Linked DNA regions of Homo sapiens: all the other regions are linked to region 1. Evidence: promoter capture Hi-C in 16 types of primary human blood cells and fetal thymus (Javierre and others, 2016). All regions are on one chromosome and are shown on one strand. Each heading gives the region's core, a stretch centred on a gene start or on the middle of the fragment in contact. The rest is flanking DNA. Distances are from core to core; before and after follow the strand shown. Region 1 holds the start of MYCN (MYCN proto-oncogene, bHLH transcription factor). Region 2 overlaps LOC107985855 (a long non-coding RNA gene). Region 3 has its middle 290 kb from the start of GACAT3. Region 4 has its middle 250 kb from the start of GACAT3. Region 5 has its middle 190 kb from the start of GACAT3. Region 6 has its middle 220 kb from the start of CYRIA.

Region 1 (2,700 bases), core at 50-2,549:
TACACCTGTAAGAAAAGCTAGACCAGAGTGAAGTAAAGCCAGGATTTGATGGTGGCGGGAAGGGAAGGGGCCAATGCTGCTGCTGGACAGAGGGGTGTTATTTTCCCCAGAAGAATAGCATGTCGTGGTCATCATCATAATAATAGCTGACACAACTATTATGGGCTGGGGACTTATAAGAGCTTTCATAACTCTCAGGTAGGAGGCACTACGAACTCCATTTCACAATTGAGGAAACTGAGGCACAAAGAAACGAAGTAGTGACAGCAGCTTTCCTTTTTCCCTTCAACAGTTTGGAATCAAGCTGTTTGAGCCGAGGCTGGGTCTCAGGAGGTGTGGACAGCACTTCCATCTCGGTAAATCAGATTCGCCTGCCCATAACTGGGGAGAATGGTGGCTTTGAAAAGGTTAACTTGGGAGCCCTGGGGACGGCTGCAGGGAACGTACGCCCATTCCCCCTAGGAAGCAGAGCCAGGCCGCCTCCTCCTCCGCAGTGGTGAGGACGCGTGGACAGTCCCGCGGGGGCGGCGGGAGACCTGCGGAGTGGCCGCACTCCAGGTCCGCGCCAAGGCCGGGCAGCTCCGCTTTCTGCTCAGTCTCCGCGAGGTGTCGCCTTCGGCCGAAGAAACCACCGCGGCGCCACCCTCGTAGCTCGCACTTATTTATTTATTTATTTTCAAACAAGGGGGGCGCCCCTCTTCTTTCAATTTGAAACTGGAAACATCCAGAGGTCTTGTTCCTAAGGGGGCGCGTCCTCTCCCTGCTATTTTGCACCTTCGGACTAGCCTTCTTTCGTAATTACACAGGAGCAACCTCCCTGCAAGGCCTTGCTCAACGTTGGCCTCGCGCTCAGCTGCACAACACGCAGTCAAAGCGGGGGCTGGGTTAGAAGCATCGGTCTCCCCTCCCCAACACACACCCCCGGAGCCCTCCGTAATTTTTTTTTCTTTTAATGACAAGCAATTGCCAGGCTCGCAGGGTGGGTGCTGCATTGCACCGCTCCGCGCGCAGCTGGTTCTCAGAGTGCAGCCGGTGCAAGCCCGGGGGTCCAAAAGGGCGGGAGGAGCACACCCTGGGCTTCCCAGCTTTGCAGCCTTCTCTCTGCAAAGAAAAGCAAGTGGCTTTTGGCGCGAAAGCCTTGGCGCCTCCCCTGATTTTTATGGAAATCAGGAGGGCGGGGTAAAGCCGCTTTCCTCTCCTTTCTCCCTCCCCCTTGTCTGCGCCACAGCCCCCTTCTCTCCCCGCCCCCCGGGTGTGTCAGATTTTTCAGTTAATAATATCCCCCGAGCTTCAAAGCGCAGGCTGTGACAGTCATCTGTCTGGACGCGCTGGGTGGATGCGGGGGGCTCCTGGGAACTGTGTTGGAGCCGAGCAAGCGCTAGCCAGGCGCAAGCGCGCACAGACTGTAGCCATCCGAGGACACCCCCGCCCCCCCGGCCCACCCGGAGACACCCGCGCAGAATCGCCTCCGGATCCCCTGCAGTCGGCGGGAGGTAAGGAGCAGGGCTTGCAAACCGCCCGGCGCCCAGGGAAGCGACGAGCGCCGGGGCAAGGCAAGCCCTGGACGGGATTGCGACGTGCGCACCGGGCGCCCTAATATGCCCGGGGGACTGTTTCTGCTTCCGAAACAAAACCATCTCTGGGTTTTCCCAGAAAAGCCAGTTCCAGCCCCGAAGGCATCCTGGCTAGAGGAGACCCGCCCTAATCCTTTTGCAGCCCTTACCGGGGGGAGTAATGGCTTCTGCGAAAAGAAATTCCCTCGGCTCTAGAAGATCTGTCTGTGTTTGAGCTGTCGGAGAGCCGGTGCGTCCCCACCCCAGGCTGGGGTTCTTCTCCAAAGGGTGCCCCTGGAGGAAGAAGAGGGGGGGATTAGGCAGGGCGAGGCCGCCGCGGTCGCAATCTGGGTCACGGCTGCTCCAGCTTGGAGGAGAGGCGGCTCTCCCGGCGACCCTCCTCGCGCGGGCGCCCCTGCCATTCCCGGGAACAGGGGCTCAGCCTCTCCCTCCCTGGAAGAGGACGTTGTCGTGGGTTTGGAAGAGCAGGGGTGGGCTTAGAGAGCTTCCAATTAAGCTATTGGCAGGAGTATCCCTGCAGCGGGTGAATGCCGAGGGGCGTTTGCTCAAATTTGGGGAGGGGAAGGATTTGTGGATATGGGTGTCTGTTGTTGGTCTCTGTCTAGAGAAAGGCTTTTTTTTATTTGCAAAGTTTTCTAAATCCCCTGCTATCATTTGCACTCCTGAGGTTGCATTTTTACAAAGGGGGTAGAAGGTACTCCAAATACCATTCCCGGTAGCTGGGTCGGAGAGCCTGGGGCTTCCCCTGAGCAGCCGGCCCCACACCGCTGCGAGTGCGGTTGTCTGCGTGCTCGTGAGAGCTAGAATTCTGCAGCCAGGAACAGCCCCCTCCCCCAGGCAGTGCCTTGTGTGAATGAAATGGCAGTTTCCAAAGTTGCGGAGCCTCGCCACCACCCCCTGCATCTGCATGCCCCCTCCCACCCCCTGTCGTAGACAGCTTGTACACAAAAGGAGGGCGGGAGGGAGGGAGCGAGAGGCACAACTTCCTCCACCTTCGGGAGCAGTGGGCAGAGTGGGGGGCTTGGAGGGAAGATTGGGGAACCTGGTTAGAGGGGGCGCCCATTGCCTATCCCCTCGGTCTGCCCCGTTTGCCCACCCTCTCCGGTGTGTCTGTCGGTTGCAGTGT
Region 2 (2,700 bases), core at 138-2,637, 480 kb after region 1:
AAATCCAGACAGGATGAAGGCCCAGGGGAAGAACAAAAACGTCTTTTTCTCATTCTCTGAAGCAAGAAAAACATTCCCAGAATTCCCCCAGAGCATTGGCCAGAATTGCATTACATGACAGATACTAAACCAGTCACTGACAAAGGGAGGGAGATAACTCTGATTGGCTTGAATCGATCAAAGTTTCCTCTTAGAACTGGGGATAAGGAGTAGCTTGGGAGCAGGTGACTTTCTGAAAGTGATCTGGGTTCTGTTAGAAGGAAGAATGAACAGAAAGACATTGTGCTGCAGGTGAACAGCTGAGCACATTATGCACAGAGATATTTCATTTTTTAGATAATTAGAATAGGGAGAGGACATTCTACACAGGGCAAAAGTGAAGCTGCCTCTTTTGAGGAGAAATGGTTAATTTAGCTGAAGCATGAAAGCAAGAGGGGGAATCACTGCAGAAGAAGATATTCTGGACAACAATACAATTATGATATCAGAGAACTCTTAATTTCTCAAAAACACTTCACTGACTCTCACATCAACTAGAACAGCAAGTATCAACAGAGAAATCTGAAGTCCAGAGCAGGTGAGTAAATCTTCCAAGGTCACACAGCCTGTAAACAACAAGGTCTGGTGACTCTTGCCTGGGATCCTTTTGCAGTTCCTTGGCAATTAGTTGAGGCAGGTATATTAGTTATCTATTGCTGCGTAACAAATTATCCCAAATTTGGGAGCAGATCAGCTGAGTGGTCCTGACTCTGCTGAGATTGCACTGAAGCTGTCAACTGGGACAAACCATCTAAGGCTTGTGTGGGGCTGCAGGATCTGCATCTAAGCTCGGTTGCATGGACTTTGGCAGAAGGCCTCAGTTCTTCCCCATGTGAACCTCTCCACAGGGACCTCTCCACAGGGCTTCTTGCATTTCCTTATGGCTTGGTAGTGGCTTCCACTAGAGCCAGCAATAAGAGAGAAAGAGCAGGACAGAAGCTTCAATGACCTGTATTACCTAAATTTGGATGCCACTACATTCTGTTGGTTAGAAGTGAGTCAGTAATTTCAGCTCATACTCAGAGGAAAGGTAATTAATCTCTACCTTTTGATGGGAGGAGTATCAAAGAACTTATGGGCATATTTTAAAACCATCACAGCAGCAAAAATGCAACATGCATCCTGACATCTGGGATGAGTTCACCATAGAGAAGTCATTCAATCTGAAGGCATTAAAATACAAAAATGGTACTCCACAACGATAATAGACCAGATGACTCAATAGGAACCGTGGTGATGGTGGCGACTGGGATTTGACTGAGGCTCACCAACAAAAACCTCAATTATATTGGTTCCAAAGCTATGCATAAATTCGGAGAGAGAGCGTCTAATATGAATGGTGGTAGGGAGTAGGTGAAATTCCCTGCTCATCATTCTGCCCTAGTAATATGCATTAAATGCTCACTATTATAATCAAAATGACACACCATCCTTCTTTCTGCTGACTGTGGGGCCTCAGGATACCTAGGTCTCTGTCTCAAGGTTGGGCAGTTTTTCCCATGATCAGAAAATACAAGATCTTTTACTAGTACCCTCTTAGCAGTTTCCAAAATGCTGGAGAGAGCTCAGCATTCTTGGACCAGAAAGGCAAGCACAGAGTGGTACCTCCCCCTACCCCTTCTACAGCCCCAGTGAGGACTTTCAATCCAGTGGCCTCATCCCAGGGAACCTTGGGAGAGCTGGCAAATACTCTAAACAGATAAAAGATAATTGAACAAGGAGTGAGTAGTAAACGGTGACAAAGTGCTATTTCCATAATAAGCTTATCTGAGTAAACTTTCTCAGAGCCCCTGAGTTCCAGAGCAGGGTGTGGATTTGGCAATAGTAAAGAAACAGGCCACGCCAGGAATGTCTGGGGAGCTAATGAATGCCCCTGAAGTGGTTGACGTTCCTATCTCTGCTTTGGATCCCTGCCACCTTGACTCGAATGTCAGACGGTGTTTAATTGGCAAACAGGGCTTCAAAGGGTTGCTGGGCCCTGCTCCCAGGGCCCTGGGGCTGTTAATGTTTAATTGTCATGTGCAAGGGCCCACTAGCTCTTGGTAGATTTGGGTGTTTTATTGCACTTTGAAAAAGCAACGTTATGAGTCTCCTTCTTGCTCCATGGACATTTTTACAGACATGCCTTGGAGTCACATGTTGCCTCACCTAAACTCTGAGTAGCAAAGTCACCATGTTATTCAGCAGGGTTAGAGAGAAACACCTTCAAGCTGAAAATACTCCAGATTTACTGCCTGTGTCCTAAAATCAACAAATATTGATTTCTTTGGAGCATCTGGATCAGCAACAGAGGAAAAAAAAAGAAACTGAGTTGGGGGTGTAGGTTTAGGGAAGAGAAAAAAGACACAGAAGTGAAATTGCTAAATGGCAGATCATACAATTTCTTCATTGAACGCTGGTGGCATCCACTCTCCTTGACACTGGCTCTGTTACTCATGGCTCTGCTGGAAATGCAAATCTTTAAAAAAATCCCTCTCCCTAAAAGGGCCTATTTGCTTTATATTGTTCATGTAATTTAAAAAGTCTAGAGATTGTCTTAATAAGACTTTATAGCCTTCCTCTAATTACATAGGGAAGAATAAGAAATAATAGAAGACAAATACTTTTTTTTTTCTAAACTACATGGAAATTGTGAATAAAGGAGTAGCTTCCAACTTCCTG
Region 3 (2,700 bases), core at 20-2,519, 400 kb after region 1:
ATGCAGGGCCCAGGCTTCCTACCTTCTAACCCATACTCTTCCTGCAGAACCACGCTGACTTGCAATACTTATGCTTGGGATTTTCAAGAAGCCAGGCAGAGAGAATCTCATTATGTACCTAAAGCTTCTCTGGTGCTGCAAAGCACTGTTCAAAAGCTTAGGTCTTGTTGAGCTCATGAAGCAGTATCTGTGGCCTCTTCTGCACTCTCCATACTTGGCAGCCACACCAAACTTCATCAGAGAAAGATCCCCAGCCAGAGAGGGCATCTGTAGAGTGCAACTTGCTTGATTTTCAATATTGATAAAATAGGTCTGCTTGGTCATTTGGGGAAAGCACAACAGAAGGGAAGAGGAGAGAGCACCTCTGCACACCCAAGAGCAAACTACGGGGTGGGGTCTGGGTGCCGGGAGTGGGATAAGAGGTCAGGGGCAGCTTAACCTGTCCTCCTGTCTGCTTTACTAATCTCCTCTGGACAGCTCTGATCTCACCTTGCCATGGAGCTGTAAGTATGTTAGCGGGGAGCGCACAATGGATGTCAGAGATAGACACAAGCATTAAGGAGTCGGCTGTCAACAGGCTCAAAAGAATTAGTGGGGGCCTGTGTTAGGGGCTGACTGCGATGGGTAAGGGGCAGTTTGGAAAACGGTTCTCTCCACTCGCTATCTTCCAACAGTTATCAGTTGCTTTACAAATCATAGTCATGCCCCACATGAGGATATTTCCATCAACGATGGACCACTTATATAATGGTGGTCCCATAAGATTATAATAGAGCTGAAAAATTCTTATTCCCTGTTCCCACCACGTCATTGTGCAATTACTTTATTTTTCTCATAAATTTAGTGTAGCCTAAGTGTACTGTGTTTATAAAGTCTATACAGTAATATCTTAGGCCTTCACATTCACTCACCCCTCACTCATTGACTCACCCAGACCAACTTTCAGTCCTGCAAACTCTATTCGTGGTAAGCGCCCTATATAAATGTACCATTAAAAAAAAATCTTTTGTACTATATTTTACTGTACCTTTCCCATGTTCAGATATGTTTAGGTACACAAATAATTACCATAATGTTATAATTGCCTACCGTACTCAGTACAGTAACATGCTGTCCAGGCTTGTAGCCTAGGAGCAATAGGCTATACCACATAGCCTAGGTTCATAGTAGGCTACACCATCCTAGGTTTGTGTAAGTGTGATGTTTGCACAACAATGAAATCATCTAACGATGCATTTATCAGACCATATTCCTGTTGTTAAGCAACACATGACTGTAGGAGGTTCATCCTCAAAGACTGAAACTTGAGTACCTGAGCACACCATCCAGGGGGGTGGGTATCACCCAATCTAGCCTACCACTGTTGACACCTGAGCAGTCCTTCTGGTATTTGAGGTTGAACCCCCTGAACCTGTTACTACCACCACAGCTGCCACTCATCTGCATGTGCCACCTGCAGACCTGGGGACTGGCCCATCCAGCCCATTGTAGCCATCATCAAAAACAGCAGGGATCTCTTGGGTCCCAAAGATTGTCCCACCACTGCTACTGTGATTGCCCATGCCACACCTGCTGCCCAGGGGCTCAATAATCCACCTGCCCAGCCCACCACTGTCATTCCTGGCACCTGAGCAAGCCACCTTGAAGGCCAATAATCAGACTTCCTGGACTGGCTAACACATGCCAGCATATACAACCCTGGTGCCCAAGGATAGGCATGCTCAGCCTGCTGCTGCCATCAATGGGCCCTGAAGACTGGCCCACATGGTGTCTCAGTCCCCAGCAGAACTTCACCACTGCCTCCACTAACAACTGCACCCTAAGCCACTGAGGAAATCACAGATACCACTGATGCTGTTTTTAGCCAAAGAAATCATACAGAGACTACACTACTGCACAATCCCAGAATCAAAGCCAAAGTACCATACTCAACCAACTCCACAGATACATCTTCAGGAAAATGTCCTTCCCCAAAAAATCAAATTAAAAAATTGGAAGAAGAGACTGTTATGCTAGATGTGCAGATATCAACATAAGGACACAGGAAACATAAAAAAACAAGGAACTATGACACCTCCAAAGGAACACAAGAATTCTCTAGCAACAGATAACAATCAAAAAGAAATTTATGAAATCTGAAAAGCAATACAAAAAAGTCAGAAAAGCAATTCATGATATGAATGAGAAATTTACCAAAGAGATAGATATTATAAAAAATAACCAAATAGAAATTCTGTACATAAAAAATTAATTAATTTAAATACAAAATACATTCAAGAGCTGCAACAATAGACTAGATCAAGCAGAAGAAAGAATCTTAGAACTAGAAGATAGGTTTTTTGCAAAATCCAGTCAGATAAAAATGAGTACATAAGAATGAGCAAAGCTTAAATTTATATATGGGACACTGTAAAATGACCACATATTTGAATTTTTGGCCCAGAAGACAAAAAGAAAATGAAAGGGTAAGAAAACATATTTAATGAAACAATACATGAAAACTTCCCAAGTTTATTTAAAAATTAGACATCTGGATACAGGAGGCACAAAGATTCTCAAATAAATACAATTCAAAAAAATCTCCTCCATGGCACATTATGGTCAAACTGTCAAGTCGAAGACAAAGTAAATTTTTACAAACAGCAAAAGAAAAGCCCCTAGCAACTTATAAAGGAACCCCCATGAGACTAACAGCAGATA
Region 4 (2,700 bases), core at 129-2,628, 360 kb after region 1:
TAACATATTTCTCTTTTACCATGTCTTTTAACTGTCTTTGTATTTAATATATAAAGGTTATTAATTTGCATATATTGAGTTGTTAATTACTAAATTCTCATGGTTCACAGTAGTTTTAAGTTGATTCTTTTGGTTCTCAACCTAAATGATAAAGTCTTATTTTTATTATTCAATTCTTAACCTCTAGTTTCATTGTTTTTGTCTATTTACATTGGTTAATTACTGAAACAGTGGTAAAAACTAATAGAGATTTTAGATATCTTGTGTTGTTTCTAAGTTTAGAGATAAAGCCTCTAGTGTTTCTTAGTTCACTATTAAGTAGGATGCTGGCTTTTGAGTTGACATTTACGTATGTGTGTGTGCAATCATAATATAATCATGCAGCATTAACTGTCAGCTCTTATTTTGTTGAATAATTTTTACATAGATGAGTGGTGAATTTGAGATATAGTTAGTAAATGGAAGATAAGTATGTCATTTTTTTCCCTCCTTAGCTATAATGATGGGTTCTATTAAGAGATTTCCTAGTGTTGAACCATCTTTGCATTCCTGGATGCAACATGCCAGGAAAACCACTGTTGTTTTTTGCTTTTTAGTTGTTTATTTGTTTATGCTGACAGATTCTGTTTACTAATGCTTTATTTGATATATGTATATACTTTTTGAAGATATGAGGTCTCATTACATTTTCCAGACTGGAGTGCAGTGGCTATTCACAAGTACGTTTACAGTGCACTATCTCTGGGCTCAAGTGATCCTCTCACATCAGCCTCCTGAGTAGCTGGGACAACAGGTACCTGCCACTGCACCTGGCACTCTTTGATATTCTTTAGTAAGATTGATCTGTCTTCTTTTTTTGATGCAGTTAGTTTTTGGTTTTAATGACACATTCTTTATAGAAAAGAACTGGAGGATTTTCTTTGCTTTTCTGTGCTGTAACATAGTTTCAGGAGCAGTTGGGATTCTTGATTTTTGCAAATGTGATAGAATTCCTATGAAAAAATATTCAGGGCTGGTGCTTTTATTGTAGGGGAGTTCTTTAGCATTCATTATTTTCTCTAAGAAAAATGGTTAGTTCAAACTTTCTGTCTTTGTAAGTATTATTTTTGGTAAGTTGTGTTTTTTCCATAATACCTATTTTATCTATTTTTTTCTTATTTACTTGTACAGAGTTGCAGCAAGGTAGTCCCTTATGACTTTAACATTTTATTTCTTCTATGTCTTTTTGATAGCCTTTTTTTGTGAAACTCTATTCTAAAGAATAATTTTCAAAATCAGAAGGAGAATTGACTAATAATGGTTCACAAGGCAATGAAGATTATAATAGCAAAACAACCAGGAAAAGCATGAGTAGCAGGAGAAACATAGATATCTAACAGTAGGGGTATAGCTAAATTGATTATGGTATGTACACATGAGACAATATTCTGTATAAAAAGGATATTATATAGAATTTATAATGTCATAGGAAAAATATTTTGAGTGAATGTTAAATTTAAAAGGACATAAAATTATCCGTGGAACACAATCTTAATACAAAAATAAAATGTCTACAAAAAAGATTGGGAGAAATACATCAGATCATTAAAATTAGATATGCATATATAATACCTTCAGAATCCAAAGGTCATTATGGAGACACAAAGCATCATTATGCCATGGGATGGGTCCTTGGAATGAGGAGTGTTATATGCAGTCTACCCTCCTGCCTACAATCTCCCTCATTCAAAGTGACTGGGAAAGCCGAAGAGAATATTATATACCTTTGAACACTGAAGCAGAGGCACAAGGATACCCCTAGGCACTACCAAAAAGTCTTGTTTTGTGAAGAGAGCTCCTTCCCTTTCCCCCTTCTTTTCTTCTCTTTTTTCCTTTCTCCTTTCCTTTGGATCTTCCTTCCTAGAGCACTTCCCCTGCAATCAGAGGAAATTAGAAAGTCCCCAAAGATCAAAAAGTCAAAATAATTAACAGATTCGTTAATTCATTCAACAAATACTTAGGAAGTCTCCAGCATTGTCCCATTGTGGAAAAAAACAGAATTGAAGTTCCTACCCTCAGGAAGAGTATGGGCTTGCGGGGAACACATGCTCCATGGAGATGAGTTGACTACTCCTGTGATGAGTGCCTCTTGAGCAGTGTGGTCCCTGGATCAAAGGCACCAGCATCCCTTGGAGACTTGGTGCAAATTCTTGGCCCACTTCAAAGCTGCTGAGTTAGGGATTCTGAGGGTGGGTCCAGCAAACTGGGTTTTAACCAGCTTCCAGGTGATTCTGAGAACCACTGCTAAGAAAAGAGGTTAACAAACTTTCAGGAAAGGGTCAGATTGTAAATATATTTCAGGCTTTTCAGATGGTATGGCTTCCGTCACAAGTACTCAACTCTGCAATTATAGTGCAAAGCTGCCATAAATAACATGTAAGCAAATGGATGTAGGTGTGTTCTCAGAAAACATTACTTATGGACACTGAAATTTGAATTCCGTATAATTTTTATGTGCTGTAAAATATTATTCTTCCTTTGCTTTTTCCCAACCATTACAAAATATTAAAATCATTCTTAGCTCTCTACACCAACAAAAATACGTGGCAGGGCAGATTGGCCGGCTGGCTGTAGTTTTCAGCCGCTGTGTTGGGCAGCTCTGATCATTAAGACAAGTCCTCCTATATTAAGCTGATATCTTCACCATGTAATTTACTCCCA
Region 5 (2,700 bases), core at 23-2,522, 300 kb after region 1:
CCTCCCATTTAACCATCCATCCATCTATCCATCCATCCATCCACCCACCCATCCATCCATTCTTTCAACAGGCAATTGCTTGCTTGCTCTGTGCCAGACACTTGAGCTCTGTGGTGGTAATCATTGGGGGAACAATGAAGCCCCTGGCCTCAAGAAACTTGGAATCTCGTACAAAAGTGTTGTATTCCCCCTGCATGCTTGCCATTGCCTATGACCATACGGCATCCTTCACCTAGAGTATCATTATTTATGTTCTCCATCTAGAAAATGCTTCACTAACATTAAGAGTTAGTTAAAGCACTTCTTTCTAAGACTATCCATATCTCCCCATCAGTAAGAATATGGAGTCAGACCTGCAAAAAACCTCATGGTGTCAGACAATGCACAGGAAGCTTATTTCCCCTTTATTACCCATGGGACTTTAAAGAGATCTTTCTCTTTTTTTGAAACAGGGTCTGGCTCTGTTATTCAGGCTGAGTGCAGTGGCATGATTGAGGCTCACTGCCACCTCTGGCTCCCAGGCTCAAGCAATTCTCCCATCTCAGCCTCCCAAGTAGCTGGGACTACAGGCATGTGCCATGACACCTGGCTAATTTTTGTATTTTTAGTAGAGATGGGGTTTAGTCATATTGCCCAGGCTGGTCTCAAACTCCTGGGCTCAAGTGATCCGCCTGTCTCGGCTTCCCAAAGTGCTGGGATTACAAGCATCAGCCACCTTGCCCGGCCTTAAACAAATCATTTAATCTCTCAGGGCCTTAGTTGCTCAAACCATAAAATGGGAAGGATAATAATTGCTTATCTAATCTCACGGGGTAGTTGTGAGATTCACATAGTTGTCTAAATGCCTTAAACCACTGACTTTCTGTTGATTCATTTATTCCCTCAACATTTGTTAAGTGCTCTTTGGGCCAACCCTTGTGTTAGTTCTGGGGATTTATATTTAAGTGGACCCTTCCCACAGGGAACACATCACCTAGAGCAGGCAACAGTCATGGAAAAATTCCCACGCAGTGAGACATGTGATGAAAAAAGCCAGCGTGGGGAGGGTGGCTTCAAACATGAACATCATGCGATTTAAAATAACCAGAGCATGCATTCGCCTCACACTCACTATGCACACTGTCCTGTTCTCATGCTTTGCTTGCATTTGCCCATTTAATTCTCACATTTATTATCTCTCTTTGAAATAGGAACATTTATGATCCCCATTATACAGATGAGAAAAATGTAAGCAAAGGATGGTATGGCTAGTAATAGGCAGAGGTAATATTTCAACCTCCTAAGCCCTTTATAAACAAGCTCCACAGGTAGGGGTGAATGGGCATCCCATGGGGCCAAGGCAGTGAGTGAGGGTGTTGGCATGACCAGAGCAGAAGAAGGTGAGCTCGCGGGAGCAGGTCGAATTCCTGAGGGCAGGCAGCCTGGCTGAGGAATCTGCAGCCCCCAAGGTTACTGAAAATAGGTATCGTGTGATCAAACGCAGGCCTTCTAGGAACTTGGATTTACCTCCTTTTTTTGTCCTCCTTCTTCCCTCTCCTTTCATTCCTGGGGAATGTCTTGCCTGTCCTCTTGGACGCTGGCCTTGAACAAAGATGGCTTAAAAAAATAGTTGGAGGCGAGAATCAACTTTCACTTCATTAAAAAAAAAATTCTTTTTCCTTTCCTTTTTTTTTTTTTCCAGAGATAAGTTTCACTAATTTTTTTTTTCCAGAGTTGAGGTTTGCTATGTTGCCCAGGTGATTCTACTGCCTCAGCCTCCAGAGTAGCTGAGATTACAGGCCTGTGCCCCCACCCCTGTCTCTAGAACTAGGTTTTGGTTTGCAGAGTGGTAACATTCCCTGGCTACAGTTGTATGTTATGAGCCTTGTACATTTGCAGAGTATATGGGAAGAAAGCAGCCATTCATCAAGATCTCTCCTTACCTGTTGGACTTTGGATATATGACAAGAAGTTACTAAATGTCTAAGTAATGTCTTTTCCTTTTTATCTAAAAGACCCTAAAAATATGAGTATTTGGCATCATTCTGTCAACAATTGATTTGATTTGCCGTGAACTGATCTTTGCTAGGGTTCCAAGTTGGTTTAAATCAATGAGCTCTCTCTTTTTTGTTTTTGTCTCTCAAATTGTATTGCTTTGGAGAGTTTTTCTTTGAAAAGCTTTTATTGACTTTTGCTAAAAGAAGAAGCGATGTGTCAGATTCTAAATGAAATCCTCTTTCTGAGGAGCTGTGAGGTCCCCACAATGTGTCAACAACAATCAAGATGTTGAAATTGAAAGCATTCACAGAGGTCATTCAGCCCAGCCATTCCCAGATCTGACCGATCACCGGAATCATGTGGGCATCAGAGACAGAGCAACAACAACAAGCTACAACAGCAGCAGCAGCAGCAGCAGCAGCAGCAGCAGCAGCAGCAGCAGCAGAATGAAGGAATGAATGAATGAATGAGCGAGTGAGTGAGTAAATCCGCATTTCTGGAGGAGACTGTATTTACGAAGAATCTTCCCAGATCTCTATGGCAGCATGTCTGGGGACCCCTGCAGTCACTGGTCTCTCCAACAGGGCAGCAACCCAGAATGGTGCAATTTTGGCATTGCACACACCTGAGGAGGCACATGGGGGCTGAAATCCAGTCCAAGCTCCAAGGGAAAGACTTCTTTTTCTCTGTGTGACTCCCCCAACCTGTGGAGTGTGCCTCTAG
Region 6 (2,700 bases), core at 117-2,616, 500 kb after region 1:
GAAAGCTGTCCCTTTCTCTCTTCTCTTTGAGTTCTCTTGTATACTCTTCCTCTCTTCCCCTTAATCAGTTACTCATCTCCAGGGGCGTGCAAGTTCCTCTGCATCTTTTTCAGAGATTGTGTGAATAAAGAGTGTTGTGGACCTCTAGGTAATGAAAGACAGATGGACCTGTAGGAGGAAGAAGTTAAGAGCATGAAAGGGGAGCCCCCATAGCTGGCAAATTCTTGTGCTCAGGCTCAACTGTAAGTCTTTCAGCAACTCTACCAGCAAAACAAGAGATCGGCCAGTGCTCCAAAAAGTCAGTCTTAGCTGCTTCAGAAGACAGATCTTTCTAGCTCTAGCTAGAATTAGGTGGGTAGGAGAACCCTGAAGTCTTCTCTCTAACTATAGCTTAGTGGCCTCATCTGTGGAGAATTGAATGGAGAGATGACATTTTCTTCTGAAGATAAAAGCTGCCTGCAGCTGGTAAGGCTCAAGGCTGAGCAGTGTTATCTGGTTGGCTTTACTGAAAGCAAGCACAGGTTCTCATATTGGGTTTAAGACCTCTGCATATGGTTATGCAGGTAGTGCTCTGCTCAAATTTAGAAGATGTCACTTGTATAAACTCTACCAGGTGATATTCAGATACACCCTAATTAAATGGAGCCCCCTAGGGTTGAACAGTGCATAAGCTATGCAGTGATGAGTGGCAGCTCTGCCTAGGGAGAGCTTCAGATCTACTGGAGTAATACTGTACTTCCTGTAACATAACTCCATGGTTCAGTTGGATAGGTTGCTTTCTGATTGGAAAGGACATATATAAATGGCGGTGATCTTCTCTTCTGGAATAAAAATCAGGACCCATGGTTGGCAAAAGACTCTTTGATTTATGATGTCACTCTTAGTGTGTACTCTTAAAGAGTACAACAATACATTATTTTTAGTTAATTAATTAATTTTTATCAAAAAGAATAAAATTAACAGCATATTGGAGTGATCTTGGAAAGCTTGGGGCATTCAAAAGTTATACAGATAATGCAATAAAAAGACATCATATTCCACTAACTCAGTCTGCCATAACAAAGTACCACAGACTGGGTGGTTAAACAATGAAAATTAATTTTCTCATAGTTCTGGTGCTGAAAAATCCAAGATCAAAGTGCCAGCCAGTTCGTTTCCTAGTGAAGGCTCTCTTTCAGGCTTGCAGGCATCCACCTTTTCTTTGTGTCCTCACATGGTGAAGAGTGCAAGAGAGAGAGATAGTGAGCCCATCTTGTATCTTCCTCCTCTTATAAGGGCACCAGCCCTATCAGACTAATGCATCTTCTGACTTTAGGTTCTTGTGACCTCATCTAACGTTTACCACCTCATCACAAGCCCTATCTCCAAATATAGTCACATTAAGTGTTAGCACTTCAACATACAAATTTGGGGGTGGGAACACAAACATCTATTTCATAATAGATATTAAATATTATTAACTTGCCTCATAAACCCTAGCCCAATGTAAAGCCATCCCCTAAAATGGCTCCCCTAATCTCTACTTTCTGATGTCCATGACCTTGTATAACATCAAACACTGAATAAGACTGAGTTCTGAAACCTGTGCCTTCCTCCTTGCTCTTTTAAATCACCTGCTCTAGGGGAAGCTAGCTGCTATCTGGCAAGGTCAACAGAGAAGCTCTATCAATAGGTCCACATGGTAAGAAACTGATTTATTAGTGACCTGCAAAGTTTTGACTCAAGTTGTATTGGGCAGAAACACTGCCAAGCTTACATAGAAAGGAGAAAGTATAAAGTGGAAAGGGGTCTTTGGACACCTAAACTTCTGAAGACGGGAAACAGACCACAAAGAGTAATCAGCTACAAAAATATGCTGCCTTCGTGGAAAAGGAAGAATGACTAAAACAGTAGAATCAAGAGATCAGAAGATGGAGTCAAGAGCCATGGAGAATAATTCTTGGGTAGGAATGGAGTGGATTCTTAATGAACTTTCATCGAGAGCCTGGCTGGATTTCAGAATTGCCCTTAATCAGTGACTCCTATATGCCTCCATTTCCCCCTTTATTGAGGACATGTGTCTAAAGTAGTCATCCTACTCTTGCCCAACTATTGTTTGTTTGTTGGGTGTGTGGAGGGAGATAACTGGTGTCTTCAGTTTTAGATAAACTGATTTGGAGAGGTTGTATTCAAGGAACCAGGCCTAAGGAGACTTGTCTGCATCTGATTTAGATAATGAGCTCTTGGATGTATAACTGATGCTATAACGGGATGAGGTTTTGGGGGCCTGCGCAGAGAGTGAGCAGTTTTGCATGTGCAACATGAATCATAGGGTAGGCAGCCTCCCAGAAGGCTCTGGTGATTCTTGCATCTGAGGTCCATGCCCTTGTATGGCCCCTTCCCACTTGGAATAAAACTGACCTGTGTCACTGACACAATACATTCATAAAAATAATGGTTTGTGACTTTGAGGCTGGGTTGTAAATGACACTGCAATTTCCACCTGGTTCTGTTTTGGATCCTTGCTCTGGTGGAAGCCAGAGCTTCCATGCTGTGGGGACATTCAGCCATTGGGAGAAGTCTTTTGGTGATGAACTGAGGCTTCTTGCCTGCAACTAGTAATAACTTGGCATCTGGTGAGAGACTACCTTGTAAGTGGATCCTCCAGCCTTCATCAAGCCACCTCCTGAGAGACCCTAACCTATAGCCATGCAGCTAAGC

Evidence for each region. Contacts are between HindIII fragments. The CHiCAGO score rates a contact against its expected background, and 5 or more counts as called.
Region 2: a contact is called between a fragment that was not itself captured here and the fragment with the promoter of MYCN in region 1, in 1 of 17 cell types (M1 macrophages). The highest score is 5.2, in M1 macrophages.
Region 3: a contact is called between a fragment that was not itself captured here and the fragment with the promoter of MYCN in region 1, in 1 of 17 cell types (activated CD4 T cells). The highest score is 5.7, in activated CD4 T cells.
Region 4: a fragment that was not itself captured here is called in contact with the fragment with the promoter of MYCN in region 1 in 3 of 17 cell types (M0 macrophages, megakaryocytes and M1 macrophages); the score reaches 7.8 in M0 macrophages.
Region 5: a contact is called between a fragment that was not itself captured here and the fragment with the promoter of MYCN in region 1, in 2 of 17 cell types (M2 macrophages and M0 macrophages). The highest score is 7.2, in M2 macrophages.
Region 6: a fragment that was not itself captured here is called in contact with the fragment with the promoter of MYCN in region 1 in 1 of 17 cell types (M1 macrophages); the score reaches 5.9 in M1 macrophages.

What each region holds. Positions count from the first base shown.
Region 1 is chr2:15,939,251-15,941,950 of GRCh38, forward strand. MYCN (MYCN proto-oncogene, bHLH transcription factor) reads left to right here and starts at 1,300. Exons shown (of 3, transcript NM_005378.6): 1 at 1,300-1,493; 2 at 2,698-2,700. MYCNOS (MYCN opposite strand) reads right to left here and starts at 2,435. Exons shown (of 4, transcript NR_110230.2): 1 at 2,282-2,435; 2 at 1,724-1,847. RefSeq lists an enhancer at 898-1,428. The HindIII fragment of the contact is 19,196 bases long and covers 1-2,700 here.
Region 2 is chr2:16,423,954-16,426,653 of GRCh38, forward strand. All of the region lies in intron 2 of LOC107985855 (a long non-coding RNA gene), which reads left to right. Among named protein-coding and RNA genes, the nearest start is that of CYRIA, 240 kb to the right of the region's middle. The HindIII fragment of the contact is 823 bases long and covers 977-1,799 here.
Region 3 is chr2:16,336,663-16,339,362 of GRCh38, forward strand. No RefSeq gene overlaps it. Among named protein-coding and RNA genes, the nearest start is that of GACAT3, 290 kb to the left of the region's middle. RefSeq lists a silencer at 1,540-1,703. The HindIII fragment of the contact is 2,230 bases long and covers 155-2,384 here.
Region 4 is chr2:16,300,008-16,302,707 of GRCh38, forward strand. No RefSeq gene overlaps it. Among named protein-coding and RNA genes, the nearest start is that of GACAT3, 250 kb to the left of the region's middle. The HindIII fragment of the contact is 2,783 bases long and covers 1-2,700 here.
Region 5 is chr2:16,237,163-16,239,862 of GRCh38, forward strand. No RefSeq gene overlaps it. Among named protein-coding and RNA genes, the nearest start is that of GACAT3, 190 kb to the left of the region's middle. The HindIII fragment of the contact is 1,765 bases long and covers 391-2,155 here.
Region 6 is chr2:16,442,526-16,445,225 of GRCh38, forward strand. No RefSeq gene overlaps it. Among named protein-coding and RNA genes, the nearest start is that of CYRIA, 220 kb to the right of the region's middle. The HindIII fragment of the contact is 765 bases long and covers 985-1,749 here.